Regions from separate parts of the Homo sapiens genome. Here regions 2 and 3 are each linked to region 1. The links are contacts of gene promoters, found by promoter capture Hi-C in blood cells and fetal thymus (Javierre and others, 2016). All regions are on one chromosome and are shown on one strand. Each heading gives the region's core, a stretch centred on a gene start or on the middle of the fragment in contact. The rest is flanking DNA. Distances are from core to core; before and after follow the strand shown.

Evidence for each region. The method cuts DNA at HindIII sites, captures the fragments that hold promoters and counts their contacts. A CHiCAGO score of 5 or more calls a contact.
Region 2: a contact is called between the fragment with the promoter of DYNLL1 here and a fragment that was not itself captured in region 1, in 3 of 17 cell types (total B cells, fetal thymus and naive B cells). The highest score is 7.3, in total B cells.
Region 3: a contact is called between the fragment with the promoter of COQ5 here and a fragment that was not itself captured in region 1, in 2 of 17 cell types (fetal thymus and total B cells). The highest score is 5.9, in fetal thymus.

Annotation. Positions count from the first base shown.
Region 1 is chr12:121,058,808-121,063,482 of GRCh38, forward strand. It overlaps LOC105378258 (a long non-coding RNA gene), which reads right to left. Exons shown (of 4, transcript XR_007063492.1): 4 at 483-949. It also overlaps the pseudogene OASL2P. Among named protein-coding and RNA genes, the nearest start is that of OASL, 22 kb to the left of the region's middle. RefSeq lists enhancers at 1,195-1,284, 1,405-1,574, 1,595-1,774. The HindIII fragment of the contact is 1,634 bases long and covers 1,312-2,945 here.
Region 2 is chr12:120,493,490-120,498,164 of GRCh38, forward strand. It overlaps DYNLL1 (dynein light chain LC8-type 1), which reads left to right and starts at 2,624. Exons shown (of 3, transcript NM_003746.3): 1 at 2,624-2,727; 2 at 2,927-3,064; 3 at 4,584-4,675. The coding sequence starts at 2,933. NRAV (negative regulator of antiviral response) reads right to left here and starts at 2,457. Exons shown (of 2, transcript NR_038854.1): 1 at 2,334-2,457. RefSeq lists silencers at 2,168-2,217, 2,508-3,027 and an enhancer at 2,282-2,948. The HindIII fragment of the contact is 1,365 bases long and covers 1,820-3,184 here.
Region 3 is chr12:120,526,859-120,531,533 of GRCh38, forward strand. It overlaps COQ5 (coenzyme Q5, methyltransferase), which reads right to left and starts at 2,300. Exons shown (of 7, transcript NM_032314.4): 1 at 2,082-2,300. The coding sequence starts at 2,283. RefSeq lists enhancers at 1,290-2,060, 2,061-2,830, 2,177-2,636. The HindIII fragment of the contact is 14,447 bases long and covers 1-4,675 here.

The DNA.
Region 1 (4,675 bases), core at 879-3,378:
GCCTTGGCCTCCCAAAGTACCGAGATTACAGGCGTGAGCCACCGCGCCCGGCCAGTCAGTGCCATTTTAGAAGGAAAATATAGATGATCTTGATGACTTTAGGGGTTAAGTGGGGCTGGTTAAAGAGGAAACAAAAGGCATAAATTTTATTTTAATTTCTTTAAAAATTTTTTTTAAATAATATATAAAAAAGTTTAAAATTTTAAATAATTGAGATGAGGTCTTGCAATGTTGCCCAGGCTGGCCTTGAACTCCTGGGTTCAAGTGATCCTCCCCACTCAGCGTCCCAAAGTGCTGGGATTACAGGTGTGAGCCACTGTGCCTGGCCAAAAGGCATAAATTTTATACAAACCTGCTACCCATAGTCCACTTGATTCCCTGGCACTTAGAGAGCTGGATCCCAAATCATCATCATCATCATCATCATCATCATCATCATCATCCAGATTTGTAGAATAGTTTACTGCTTAAGAGCACTTTTCTATGCTTTATCCCATTTATTGTTCATTAGAAACCGGTTTTAGAGAGGAAGAGACCGATGCTCAGAGAGACAAAATAACTCATCCCTTACCTATCCCACAGCCCCACAGTCCCACAGGGCAGAGCTGGGATTTGAACCCCGGGGGTTCCTGAGTGCTCACCTTTGCCATCTTCAGCACCCTGACTTCCTGGTCCAGAATCAGCTCATTATAGAAGAACTGATCCCTCAAGAACTGCTCAGTTCAATGCCCGGCATCCTTCACTTCATCCTTCCAGTCTCCCTGGGGCTGGAGGCTGTTTTACGAAGGCAGACTGGAAGGATGTTTTATGAAGACATCCAGCCTGTCCCCAGGGGTGTCATACAGGTCCTGGAAGCCTGCCATCTCTGTGGGACCAGGAATGAATCGTCTCTGCTTCTGCCCAGCCCTGTAAGGGGCAACTCCCAGCCTTTGTCCAGTAGGCCACAGAACTGCAGAAGGGCAGGGAGATGGTGTGGGTTAGAGAGAGAGTTAGCTGCCCTTTTTCTTTCTTTTTTTTTTTTTTTTTGATACAGAGTCTTGCTCTGTCACCCATGGCGTGATCTCAGCTCACCGCAACCTCTGCCTCCCGGGTTCAAGGGATTCTCCCACCTCAGCCTCCTGTGTAGCTGGGATTACAGGCACCTGACACCACGCCCGGCTAATTTTTGGTATTTTTGGTATTTTTAGTAGAAACGGGGTTTCACCATGTTGGCCAGGCTGGTCTCAAACTCCTGACCTCAGGTGATCTGCCCGCCTTGGGCTCCCAAAGTGCTGGGATTACAGGCGTGAGCCACCGACGGAAGAATCACTAAGCTTACTTTCCTCTTTTTAGGGTGCAGAGAGGGCTAGGGGGCCCTCCAGGCATCAGCTGAGCCTCCCTCTGCTGGGCTGCCTTAGTTCAGCAGCCATCTCTCCTGCCGGCTGAGAATGGAAACTGAAACTGAACTTTGTTTTGTTTGTTTGGGTTTTTTTGTTTTGTTTTGTTTTGTTTTAATTGGAAACAGAAAATTTGCTGAGCTTTGAAAGAGGAATTTTCTCTTTCCATTTGAGGTTGCCAGGAAAAAAGGCTGGAGATGGAGCCAAGTGCCCCTTGGGCTTCCTTGAGAGGAAGGTTCTCAGGCTGGGAGTTTCCCAGGGTGTCCTGGAGCTGGGCTGCCCCCACCTCTCCATCCCCTATTTCCTGCTGCAGGAGCAGACCTTGTCTCCCTACGGGAACTCAGTAGTGTCTGCCCCGGAATCAGAAGGTGCTGGCTCCTTGGGGTGAGGGGATGGGGGCTTGGGCTGAGCCCCGGGAGTCCTGGGGCCTGGGATTGACTCTTTATTTTCTAAAAGCAAAGACATACTCACCCCTTTACTACTTGTTTTGTTGCGTATATTTAGGTCTCCCCTATCCCCTCACCAATAATCCACAGGAAGGAGGTAATCTTTTAAAAAATTGTCTTTAGGGGGCGCTGTTCTCTCAAGAACTTCATTTTGAAGAGCAAACTGACAGTTTGTGGTAGACACATTGGCTTTTAAAGATCTCAACTAGCGACCAGGCGCGGTGGCTCTCGCCTGTAATCCAGCACTTTGGGAGGCCGAGGCGGGAGGATCGCTTGAGGCCAGGAGTTTGAGACCAGCCTGGCTAACATGATGAAACCTCGTCTCTACTAAAAATACAAAAAAATTAGCCAGGCGTGGTGGCAGGCGCCTGTAATCCCAGCTACTTGGGAGGCTGAGGCAGGAAAATCACTTGACCCCAGAGGCGGAGGTTGCAGTGAGCCGAGATGGCATCACTGCACTCCAGCCAGACTGTCTCAAAAAAAAAAAAAAAAAAAAAAAAAAAAAAAAAAAAGGAAAGAAAGTAAATCCCACATTGATACTGTGGAGGCCATAAGTATGCACCTATAGGATGCATTTTAAAAATGCCCTAACAACGCATAAATATGTCACTGAGGTTTGTTAAGAATGTCCAGATTTCCAGCCTGGGCAGCATAGTAAAACTCCATCTCTACAAAATATACAAAAAAATTAGCCGGGCATGTGGCATGTGCCCGTAGCTACTAGGGAGGCTGAAGTGGGAGGATCACCTGAGCCTGGGAAGTCGAGGCTGCAGTGAGCTGTGATCAAACCACTGCACTCCAGCCTGGGCAACAGAATGAGACCCTGTCTAAAAAAAATTAAAAATAAAAATGTCCAGATTCATGACAGCCTGTCTCTCACTCTGCTTAACAGAGTAAAAAATACTGAGCCCTGAAACACAGGCTTAGAAGATTCAAAAATTGCCTTGGAGAGGGAAAACCACTAAGTGGGAGATGCCTGTGAAGAGCTTGAGTTACAAAATCTTTTTGAAAACTGAAAGTGGAAAAGAGTAATATTTGTATATTACCCCATAACATATACAAATGTATAGCTGTATCTAAATAAATTAACGAAATATTGGAAGTGCATATTTGATTTCCCTTAAGCTTATGTAATTAGGGCTATGCCAACATATTTTTATTTTTCATTTATTTTTATGTTTTTCCCCATTGATCCATGTGATTCTCAAACACATTTTTATTTTCTCCCTGGCAAATATTTGTTATTAGTCCATTGGAAAAATTGATTGGATTTGGGGATCACCTTGCATTAGGGCATTTTTGGTATATGTACTCATATTTTAAAAACTGTGAATTCCAATATATATTCTTAATAGGAAACTGCGACATTTTTGTCAATTTTCCTCTCTTCCACAAGATGATGCTCCACACCCACCTAAAACAATCACCATTTGTAGTTCCTAGGATCCTAGTACAGAAGAGACAGAGGGGATCTGCTTAATCCTTGTTTTTCAGAAGGCAGACAGGAGCCCAGAGTGTTTACCAGGGCTCTTTGACATTATGGTATTGATATTAACTCCAATAGCTATACTTATCAAGCACTTCGTGTATACCAGGCTCTCTACACAGTTTATTTTATTCTTTATTTTTTTTGAGATGGGATCTGGCTCTGTCACCCAGGCTGGAGTGCGTGGCATGATCTGGGCTCACTGCAACCTCACCTCCCAGGCTCAAGTGATTCTCCCACCTCAGCCTCCTGAGTAGCTGAGACTACAAGTATGCATCACTGAGCCTGGCTAATTTTTGTACTTTTTTTTTTTGTAGAGATGGGGTTTTGCTATGCTGCCCAGGCTGGTCTCAAACTCCTGGGCTCCAGTGATCCGCCTGCCTTGACCTCCCAAAGTGCTGGGATTAGAGTCGCGAGCCTCCACACCCAGCCTCTTTTCACAGTTTAGTTCCCATAATCCCCACAAGACTCTGTGATGCAGGTTCACACCATGTTACATTATGAAGAAATCGAGTCTCAGCAAGATGATGTGGCCTGCCCAGAGTCACACACCAAAGAAGTGGACAAGCTGTGATTCAAACCCAGGTTCTCTGATTCTAAATGCCAGAGGTTTACCCACGACATTATCTTACTGCCCAAGGCACTTATTATTTATTGAGCTCCTACTACGTGCTGGGCACTGGGCGAGGCTTGGAGAATACATAAATGAATAAGGCAGCCCCATTCTACGGGCAGTTTGTTATGTGTCTTCTCTACTGGGAATCTTCAGCGTGAGAAGCACGTGGTCCCAGGGTCTAGCACATTTCTTGGCACACAATGGGGCCTCAGTTAATGTTGGCTGAATAAATGAATGAATGACACCATGTTTCCTAGGAAGCAAAAGCACTTCAATCTTGTGACTATTTTTTAGTCCATAAAACGGATAGATGGTGGAGGACAGAGAACTTCCTGGTGACCTTCTGCTTGCTTCGTCAAGGCATCTATCAAGGGTCCCCATCTTTGAGTATGGTGGCTCAACCACAGTGGACCATCCCAAAGGTCCTCTCTGGTTCTGCATTGCAGACACTCTGTGCATGGTGGTGCGGGACCTCCTTCCTGGAGGTGCTTGCTTCTTCATTTACCCCAGTGTTTCTTAACATTTTGAAGTCTTGTGAGCACCAGAGAAAATGATGAATGCAAGGGGCCCTCCCTCTAAAAAACATGTTAATGCTAATATTTTGCATGCAATTTCAGGGGCTTCCTGGACCCCAAGTTAAGAATCTCTGCTATGGGGCCGGACACGATGGCTCATGTCTGTAATCCCAGCACTTTGGGAGGTTGAGGCGGGTGGATCACTTGAGGTCAGGAGTTTGAGACCAGCCTGGCCA
Region 2 (4,675 bases), core at 1,374-3,873, 560 kb before region 1:
GACAGAGTGAGACTCCATCTCAAAAAAATAAAATAAAATAAAAAGTATACTTATTTAAAAAATAAAGGGAGTTCAAATAAAATTATTATATAGAATATTATATACAGTATTATTTTTTATTTTTTATTTATTTATTTTTTTTGAGAGAGTCTCGCTCTGTCTCCCAGGCTGGAGTGCAGTGGTGCGATCTCGGCTCACTGCAAGCTCAGCCTCTGGGGTTCACGCCGTTCTCCTGCCTCAGCCTCCCAACTAGCTGGGACTACAGGCGCTCACCACCACGCCCGGCTAATTTTTTTTTTTTTTGTATTTTTAGTAAAGATGGGGTTTCACCATGTTAGCCAGGATGGTCTTGATCTCCTGACCTCGTGATCCGCCTGCCTCGGCCTCCCAAAGTGCTGGGATTACAGGCGTGAGCCACCACACCCGGCCATATAAGGTATTATTAATGAACAATTACATTACTATATTATGATGATAGTATTATTATAGTAAAAATTAAATAAATAATAACAGGGGTAGTGTAGTGTAGATATGGAAAAAAATCATGAGGATGATTTAGGAAATTTCCCTGGGGTTTCTACTTAGTGGAGTCACCGTGGCTTTACTTTAGTGTCATTTGCATTTCCAGGGTCCTCACTTGTTGTCAACCTATTTCTTCCTCAAGAGAGGTACTATAGTAATATTATAACTCCTCAAACCCTGAATCTCATCATTAGAAACATGGAACTGGAAAAAGCTGTTGATTTAATTGATATGCATATGTTGAACCTGAAAAGGTTCTAATTATTGCCATTTTTTTCCTTTTTTTTTTTTTTGAGACGGAGTTGCCCAGGCTGGAGTGCAATGGCGCGATCTCGGCTCACTACAGACTCTGTGTCCCGGGTTCAAGTGATTCTCCTGCCTCAGCCTCCTGAGTAGGTGGGATTACAGGCACGTGCCACCATGCCCAGCTAATTTTGTATTTTTAGTAGAGATGGGGTTTCTCCATGTTGATCAGGCTGGTCTCAAACTCCTTACCTCAGGTCATCCACCCGCCTCGGCCTCCCAAAGTGCTGGGATTATAGGCATGAGCCACCGCACCCGGCCTATTCCCATCTTTTTCTTTCTGGAGTTGTGTGCCTCTGCTCAAATTGTTTTATTTTTATTTTTTGAGATGGGGTTTGGCCATATTGCCCAGGCTGGTCTCCAACTACTGAGCTCAAGCGATCCCCTTGACTCGGCTTCTCAAAGTGCTGGGATTACAGGTGTGAGCCATCATGCCCAGCCACAAATTGTTTTAAGGAGTAATGAGAGTAGATGGTCAGAGGAAAATGTAGAAATGTAAATAGGAAGCTTCCAGATACATGATTAACCTGATAACTTATTTATGGAGGTTCGAAAAATACATTATAGGCATTTCAGAGCTGGTTGTTCAAAACCTTGCTGTGGCCTTTGGGATAGTTGTATAAACTGACAATTATTGATAAGATTCATTGATCATTTACTATGTGCCTCACATTGTGCTGAGAGAACTTCAAATGTTTAATACTGCTAACAAGCGTATGAACTGGTTTCCTTTTACATTTAGTCCTCCTTTACTTAAAGAAGACATTCAAATAGCTAGTAAATGACAGTGCTGGGATTTAAATCCAGATCTGACTTGTCCCTCAACTCCCCCAAGATCTTGCTTTTTTAACCACTTCGTGTCTCCTCCCTAAGCCAGAGGGGACGTCATCTCTCTAACGGCCGCTTTTTCGTCCATTAGAATACCTCCTCCTCAGAGATAAATCCCAACCAAGAATCTCTCCCACACAGGAAAGACTGCCTCACCTGAGCAAGAAGCTTCACCCTGGACAAAAACCCCGGGGCTCAACACTCCCAAATCCACCCGGATCCCCATCCCCAACCCCTTAAAGGATGTCCGCATTGCTTGGCAGAGACCCCACTCTTGGGGATAATCCCTTAATTCGTAAGGAAACACCCTCCCTCCTTGAAGCCCTCCCTCAATCCTGAGGATGCCCTCCCCTAAATATTTCAGAGCAGAACCGACTACAAATGGGGCCCAGTGCAAAATGAAAACGTAAGGGTCCCTCCTGTGAGACTGCACTGCTGGTTTACCCACGAAGCCGGCCCTGCTTCAGAGATACCCTTTCAGTAAAGGGAGAGGCCACCTCTGTCGTAATCCTGCTAACCTGGGGTGCGAGATCATGCGACCTGTCGTGGTGGGGGGGCGGGGGGGTGGGGGCAGGAATGGCCACCAACTTCTAGAGACTGTTGTTCGAGAACACACCCTGGGACAACCTCCGTGAATTTGGAATCACTTCCCTTGGCCCCGGCAGAAGCTCCCTTCCTACCTCTCCAGACAGCTGGGTGGTCCTCGTAACCCGGCCGGGGCTCCACCTTCTGGGTGTGTGGGCCTCGTAGCGTGCGGCCCATTGCCCGGGCAACCGACGCCGTGAGCGGTGCATTGTGGTCTGCAACAAAATGCAGGAGAAAGATCCTGAGGGAACCATGGAGTCAATGGACCAATGGAAGAATGCCGTGGGCTGCGTCAAGCCAATAGGGTCGCGCGGCGAGGGGCGGGGCCGGCGGGAGCAGGGCGGGGCCTGAGCACTAGGCGGCGGCGGCTGGCGTGGGGCTGCTTAGATGCGCCACGGTTTCGGTAGCGACGGTATCTCTAGCCGGGCCTGAGCTGTGCTAGCACCTCCCCCAGGAGACCGTTGCAGTCGGCCAGCCCCCTTCTCCACGGTGAGAAACTCGGGGGGCCAGGGGGTGTCCTCGCTGCCTTATTTCGCCCCACTCCGGACTTAGCCCTCCGCGTAGCCCGCGCTTCCTGAGAAGTGGGGTGGGGGGCGTCGTCCCGTGGTGGCGCCGGCCGGGGTGGGGGCAGTTAGTGCCTGGGGGGCGCGGCCCAACTCAACCCCTTACCCCAGGCCTTGCCCACTAGGTAACCATGTGCGACCGAAAGGCCGTGATCAAAAATGCGGACATGTCGGAAGAGATGCAACAGGACTCGGTGGAGTGCGCTACTCAGGCGCTGGAGAAATACAACATAGAGAAGGACATTGCGGCTCATATCAAGAAGGTGAGGATGGGCGCGGGGGCCGATACGCAGCCGGGAGCAGGGGGTTCCTTCCCCCCGATCCTGCTTTCCTAAGGGCGCCTGACAGGTCCCGGGAATACTGCTGGCGGCTTGGGGCGTAGAAGCTTCCAGAAAGGACGCAGATGCATTTTGCGCTCCTGTGGAGAAGACCAGACCCCCGGCGTCCGAAGTTTTTTTTTTTTTTTTTTTAATTACCCAGCTCCGCGGGGGGAAAGCGCCACCTAGCAACGGTATCTAAGATCAGGGAGCAGCGGTTCCCCCTTCTGTGTGGTTCCTGCGCCGAGGATCCATCTGGGTGTTCCGGAGGGGGGAGCTGCGTGGGTGTTTCCAGCCGGGCCGGGAGGAGATCTTGCCAGCCTTCCAGTGGGGAGTTGAGGGAAGGTGGTGGGTGGTGGCGGGGCTGGGGGCTGGGGTAGGGGCTTGGTAAATGGCAGTCTAGAAAGCCGGCAGGACTGCCAACTTCTCGAGCAGTGTTTGCTGGAAGGGAAGAAAGCTGGCAGCCTAAGCCGTGGGAGGGTTCCAGTCGAGAATGGGAAGATGAAAGACTTCAGATGGAACAGAAATAAATGCCTTTTTTGACAAACGCAGCAGTGCGTGCCTCTAGCTTGCAAGAGCGTTACTCCCCTTCATAGCTTTAAAAGGTTTTCGCACTGCGTGCAGTTAGAGTAGCTAAATCTTGTGTGACGCTCCACAAACACTTGTAAGAATTTTGCAGAGAAAGATAACCGTTGCCACCCAATGCCCCCCACAGGCATTCTACTCCCCAGTACCTCTTAGGGTGGGAGAAATGGTGAAGAGTTGTTCCTACAACTTGCTAACCTAGTGGACAGGGTAGTAGATTAGCATCATCCGGATAGATGTGAAGAGGACGGCTGTTTGGATAATAATTAAGGATAAAATTTGGCCAGTTGACAGATTCTGTTTCCAGCAGTTTTTACAGCAACAGTGGAGTGCTTCAGTATTGTGTTCCTGTAAATTTAATTTTGATCCGCAATCATTTGGTATACAATGCTGTTTGAAGTTTTGTCCTATTGGAAAAGTCTTGTGTTGCAGGGGTGCAGTTAAGATCTTTGTGATGAGGAATGGGATGGGCTAATTTTTTGCCGTTTTCTTGGAATTGGGGGCATGGCAAATACAGTAGGGTAGTTTAGTTCTCTACACAGAACATGATAAACTACACCTGTTGATGTCACCGTCTGTCAATGAATATTATAGAAGGTATGAAGGTGTAATTACCATAATAACAAAACACCCTGTCTTTAGGGCTGACCTTTCGTCCTTTGACCTCCTCAGCCTCCATTCCCATCTTCGCTCAGACTGCAAGTATGTTTGTATTAATGTACTATGTAGGCGGCTTGGAGCTGGGGAACATTCTTTCATTCTAAGAATTTGCAGATGCTGACGTTCCTCCTTTCTGCCCCTACAGGCTCTGGCTTATCCAAGAGGCAAACACTGACCTCTGGTAATTAAAATCCTAGTTCTTTTCTTTTGTCTTTTCCAGGAATTTGACAAGAAGTACAATCCCACCTGGCATTGCATCGTGGGGAGGAACTTCGGTAGTTATGTGACACATGAAACCAAACACTTCATCTA
Region 3 (4,675 bases), core at 1,050-3,549, 530 kb before region 1:
CGCCCGCCACCATGCCCGGCTAATTTTTTTGTATTTTTAGTAGAGACGGAGTTTCACCGTGTTAGCCAGGATGGTCTCAATCTCCTGACCTCATGATCCACCCGCCTCGGCCTCTCAAAGTGCTGGGATTACAGGCGTGAGCCACTGCGCCCAGCCTACTCTTGGCAATTTTTTTACAAGGAAATAAAAGAATTTAATTCTCAAGGTTTCTAATTTTTTATTAGAATTTTTTTTCTTTGTTTTTGAGACAGTCTCACTGTGTCGCCCAGGCTAGAGTGCAGTGGCACAATCTCAGATCACTGCAACGTCCACCTCCCAGGTTCAAGAAATTTGCCTGCCTCAGCCTCCTAATTAGCTGTGATTACAGGCGTGCGTCACCATGCTTGGCTAATTTTTTTTGTATTTTTAGTAGAGATGAGGTTTCACCACGTTGGCCAGGCTGGTCTCGAACTCCTGACTTCAAGTGCCTACCTCGGCCTCCCAAAGTGCTGGGATTACAGGTGTGAACCATCGCACCTGGCTGTAAATAAATATCAACTTCAGTATATATTTTTTCATTTCACTATACATTTATAACTGACAGGGTTTTTGATGGTTGATAATTTTTAAAGGTCATAAAACAATTCTAATTTTTCCCATTGATTAAGGTCATTGTGTATGACTTCAGCTTGCACATTTTCACAGTCTTGCATTACTGTGCACAGCGAGGACTGTCTGTACTGCAATCTCAGTCCCCAATCTGGAATTCATATTTAGTTCAGTAGTTAACTTCTTCCTTGCTTGCCACTGTGTGAAATGTTGATTATACATTGATTATACATTGTAAAATGTTGATTATACATTGGCCGGTGTGGTGGCTCATGCCTGTAATCCCAGCACTTTGGGAGGCCGAGGCAGGTGGATCACGAGGTCAGGAGATCCAGACCATCCTGGCTAACATGGTGAAACCCTGTCTGTACTAAAAAAAAAATACAAAAAATTAGCCGGGCATGGTGGCGGGCCCCTGTAGTCCCAGCTACTCGGGAGGCTGAGGCAGGAGAATGGCGTGAAGCCAGGAGGCGGAGCTTGCAGTGAGCCGAGATCGCGCCACTGCCTTCCAGCCTGGGGGTGACAGAGAGAGACTCAGTCTCAAAAAAAAAAAAAAAAAAAAAAAAAAAAAAAAAAGAAACCCCGTCTCTACTGAAAATACAAAAATTAGCAGGGCACAGTGGCAGATGCCTGTAATCCCAGCTACTCAGGAGGCTGAGGCAGGAGGATCGCTTGAACCTAGGAGGCTGAGGTTGCAGTGAGCCCATATTGCGCCATTGCACTCCAGCCTGGGCAACAAGAGCGAAACTCCGTCTCAAAATAAATAAATAAATAAATAAATAAATAAAAACAACCAAAAAAACCCCTATTTTTCTCTAGAGGTAAAGAACGGGGGCTTCAGACTCAGATTAAACTGGGTTTGAATACTGGTTCCGCCACTTACTGATATGTTCAACTGGGCAACTTCTTGCTTAACCTTTAAGTCTCAATTTCCTCACGTGTAATATGGTAATAACAATACCCACTACTGGAATGTTGAAAATGAGAATTGAAAATAATGTCTGTACGTTGCCTGGCACATCACAAACGCTCAGTTGATGGGATTTAGTCATCAGTATTCTGCTTTTAAAAAGGGGGCGTCTGGCTGGGCGCGGTGGCTCACGCCTGTAATCCCAGCACTTTGGGAGGCCGAGGCAGGCGAATCACCTGAGGTCAGGAGTTCGAGACCAGCCTGGTGAAACCCCATCTCTAGTAAGAATACAAAAAAGTTAGCCGGGCGTGCTGGCGGGCGCCTGTAATCCCAGCTACTCGGGAAGCTGAGGCAGGAGAATCGCTTGAACCCGGGAGGCGGAGGTTGCAGTGAGCCAAGATCGGACCATTGCACTCCAGTGTGGGCAACAAGAGCGAAATTCTGTCTCCAAAAAAAAAAAAAATCATAACTGCACAGACAACAACACTGGAACTAATTGGATGTTAAATCAACCCTAACTGGCCAGAAGAAACCAGACCATGGACGGTCAGATCCCTCCCATCCGCCCTCTCGCCCCTTTCACCTTTGCCCCCCTTCTCCTCTTCCGACACAGTCTCAAACCCAAAGTGCGTTTCCGCTGCCCGCTTCTCTTGGGACAAGAGCCGAGCACTTAGTAGGTCCCCGGGCCAAGAGCTACGAAGCCCGAGGAGCTGGCAGCCCCGCATCGCCCGCGACCACCCACGGCCGCAATAGCTCCATAGAGCACAGCTCCCGGGGGCCGCCATCTTGGTAGTCGAGTGACAACGGCCAGAGAGTACGCCTTGTTGCGTCACTCCACGAACGACGGCGGCTGGCCGGCAACATTATTAGCCGAACGCGCCCTGAAATCTGATACACAGTTGTGCCGGCATTATCTCTAGGATCCAAAGGGTGGTCTCTAAGTATCGGAAATCCCTTCCTCTCTCTCTTCTCAAATTGAATTTACAATTCACCAGGAATCAGGGGATCTCAGGGGAGCCCCGGGTCACCTCTTAGCGGCCATGTCTCTGAATCCGGCTAGGCAGAAAAGTACTAACTCGCAAGATATCCAGGAACTCTTGTTGTCTTGTGCAGAAGGGGGAAATTGAGGCATGGTGTGGTTAAAAAGCCAAGATCACGGGCCAATTCCTGCACACTTTGTTGAGCGTAAGAATCACTTGGTTTACGTTTTAAAATGAAGATTCCTGGGTCCCCAACTACCAGAGATTTTGATCTGACCTATATCCCTTTAATCTCTATTTAAACAAATTTCTCTGGCGATTCTGATGCTAAAGATGCAGACCATTCTTGAGAAACATATGTTACACTACTCTGAAAAATAAACATAGGACAGACTTCTTTGTTCTGTCCGTTTTATGAACCTAGGAAGCTCATAAATGGGAACGAAAGCTCTGGTATCCACTTAGCAAGCCAGAACCACCACTCACACTTGGTCTCCTGCTGACACAAAGCTACATTCCTAGCTCCAGGTGGCATGTCATGGGTGTTTTACTTCAGCCCCAGATTTTCAGTCTTTTTTTAATGGCAAGGGTAATGCAGACCGTCTTGTGCAAAATAAAGAACGGACGTTGTTGAGTTTTGCTTGGATTACTGTATGTTTCTGCTTTCATTCCATTTTAAATGTATGTTTCCTGTAAATATTTCACGAGGAGAAAGCGCCAATAGAAGAAACTGTTTTGAAATGAAAATTCTCTTCCTGGTTTAATATAGCCTGACAGATGGACACCTAACCGCTTTCGTTTGGGAAGTACTGCGCTGGGATTTCTGTTTCTTTCTCTTTTATTTTAAGAATGATAGAAGGTCCTCGTTGGTATAGTGATGAGAAAAAAAAAAGGAAGGATACAAGGGCGAAATGATTCATCCATGTATTCATAATTCTCATGTCTTTGTTAAAAGAAATTAAGTGGCTGGGTGCGGTGGCTCACGCCTGTAATCCCAACACTTTGGGAGCCCGAGGTGGGCGGATTGCATGAGGTCAGGAGTTCGAGACCAGCATGGCTAACATGGTGAAACCCCGTCTCTACTAAAATACAAAAATCAGCCAGGCATGGTGGTGCACACCTGTAGTCCCAGCTATTCAGGAGGTTGAAGCAGGAGAATCCCTTCAACCCAGGAGTCACTGGTTGCAGTGAGCTGAGATTGCACCACTGCACTCAAGCCTGGGTGACAGAGCCAGACTCCATCTCAAAAATAAATAAATAAATAAATAAATAAATAAATAAAGTCTCATCAAAGAATCTTATATCTTCCATATCTAGTTATATAAAAGAATGGATCTCAGGATTTAGGGCTGTTCCTTCTGCACATCAGATTAAGTATCCAGACCAACAGTATTTCACTGTTCTCTTATTTCATATGATATGTGGAGGAAAACCTGTAAAAAGTGAAGTAGGACAAGGACTGTTGGAAGGTATTTTTTTTTTGAGGTAGCGTCTTGCTCTGTTGCCCAGACTGGAGTGCAGTGGCATGACTTCGGCTCACTGCAACCTCTGTCTTCTGGGTTCAAGTGATCCTCCTGCCTCAGCTTCCCTAGTAGCTGGGATTACAGGCATGCGCCACCATGCCAGGCTAATTTTTGTATTTTTAGTAGAGATGGGGTTTCGCTATATTGGCCAGGCTGGTCTTGAACTCCTGACTTCAGGTAATCCACCTGCCTCAGCCTCCCAAAGTGCTGAGCCACCACTCCCGGCGCTAATTTTTGTATTTTTAGTAGAGATGGGGTTTCACCATTTTGGCTAGGCTGGTCTTATTTACTTATTTATTGATTCATTCTTTATTTTGAAATAGGATCTCACTTTGTCACCCAGGGTGGAGTGCAGTGGCACAATCATAGCTCACTTCTCACCCTCCCAGGCTCAAGCCATCCTCCCACCTCAACCTCCTGAGTAGCTGGGACTACAGGTGTGCACCACCACACTGGGCTGATTTTTGCATTTTTTGTTGAGACAGGGTTTTGCCATGTTGCCCTGAATGGTCTTGAACTCCTGGGCTTGGGCAATCTGCCTACCTCAATCTCCCAAAGTGCTGGGATTATAGGCGTGAGCAACCGCACCTGGCCCTGGTCATTTCCTTAATAGCATGTCTATGTGATCTTTTGAATCTCAAACTACTATGGTTGGAAGGGAATCATTTGTAATT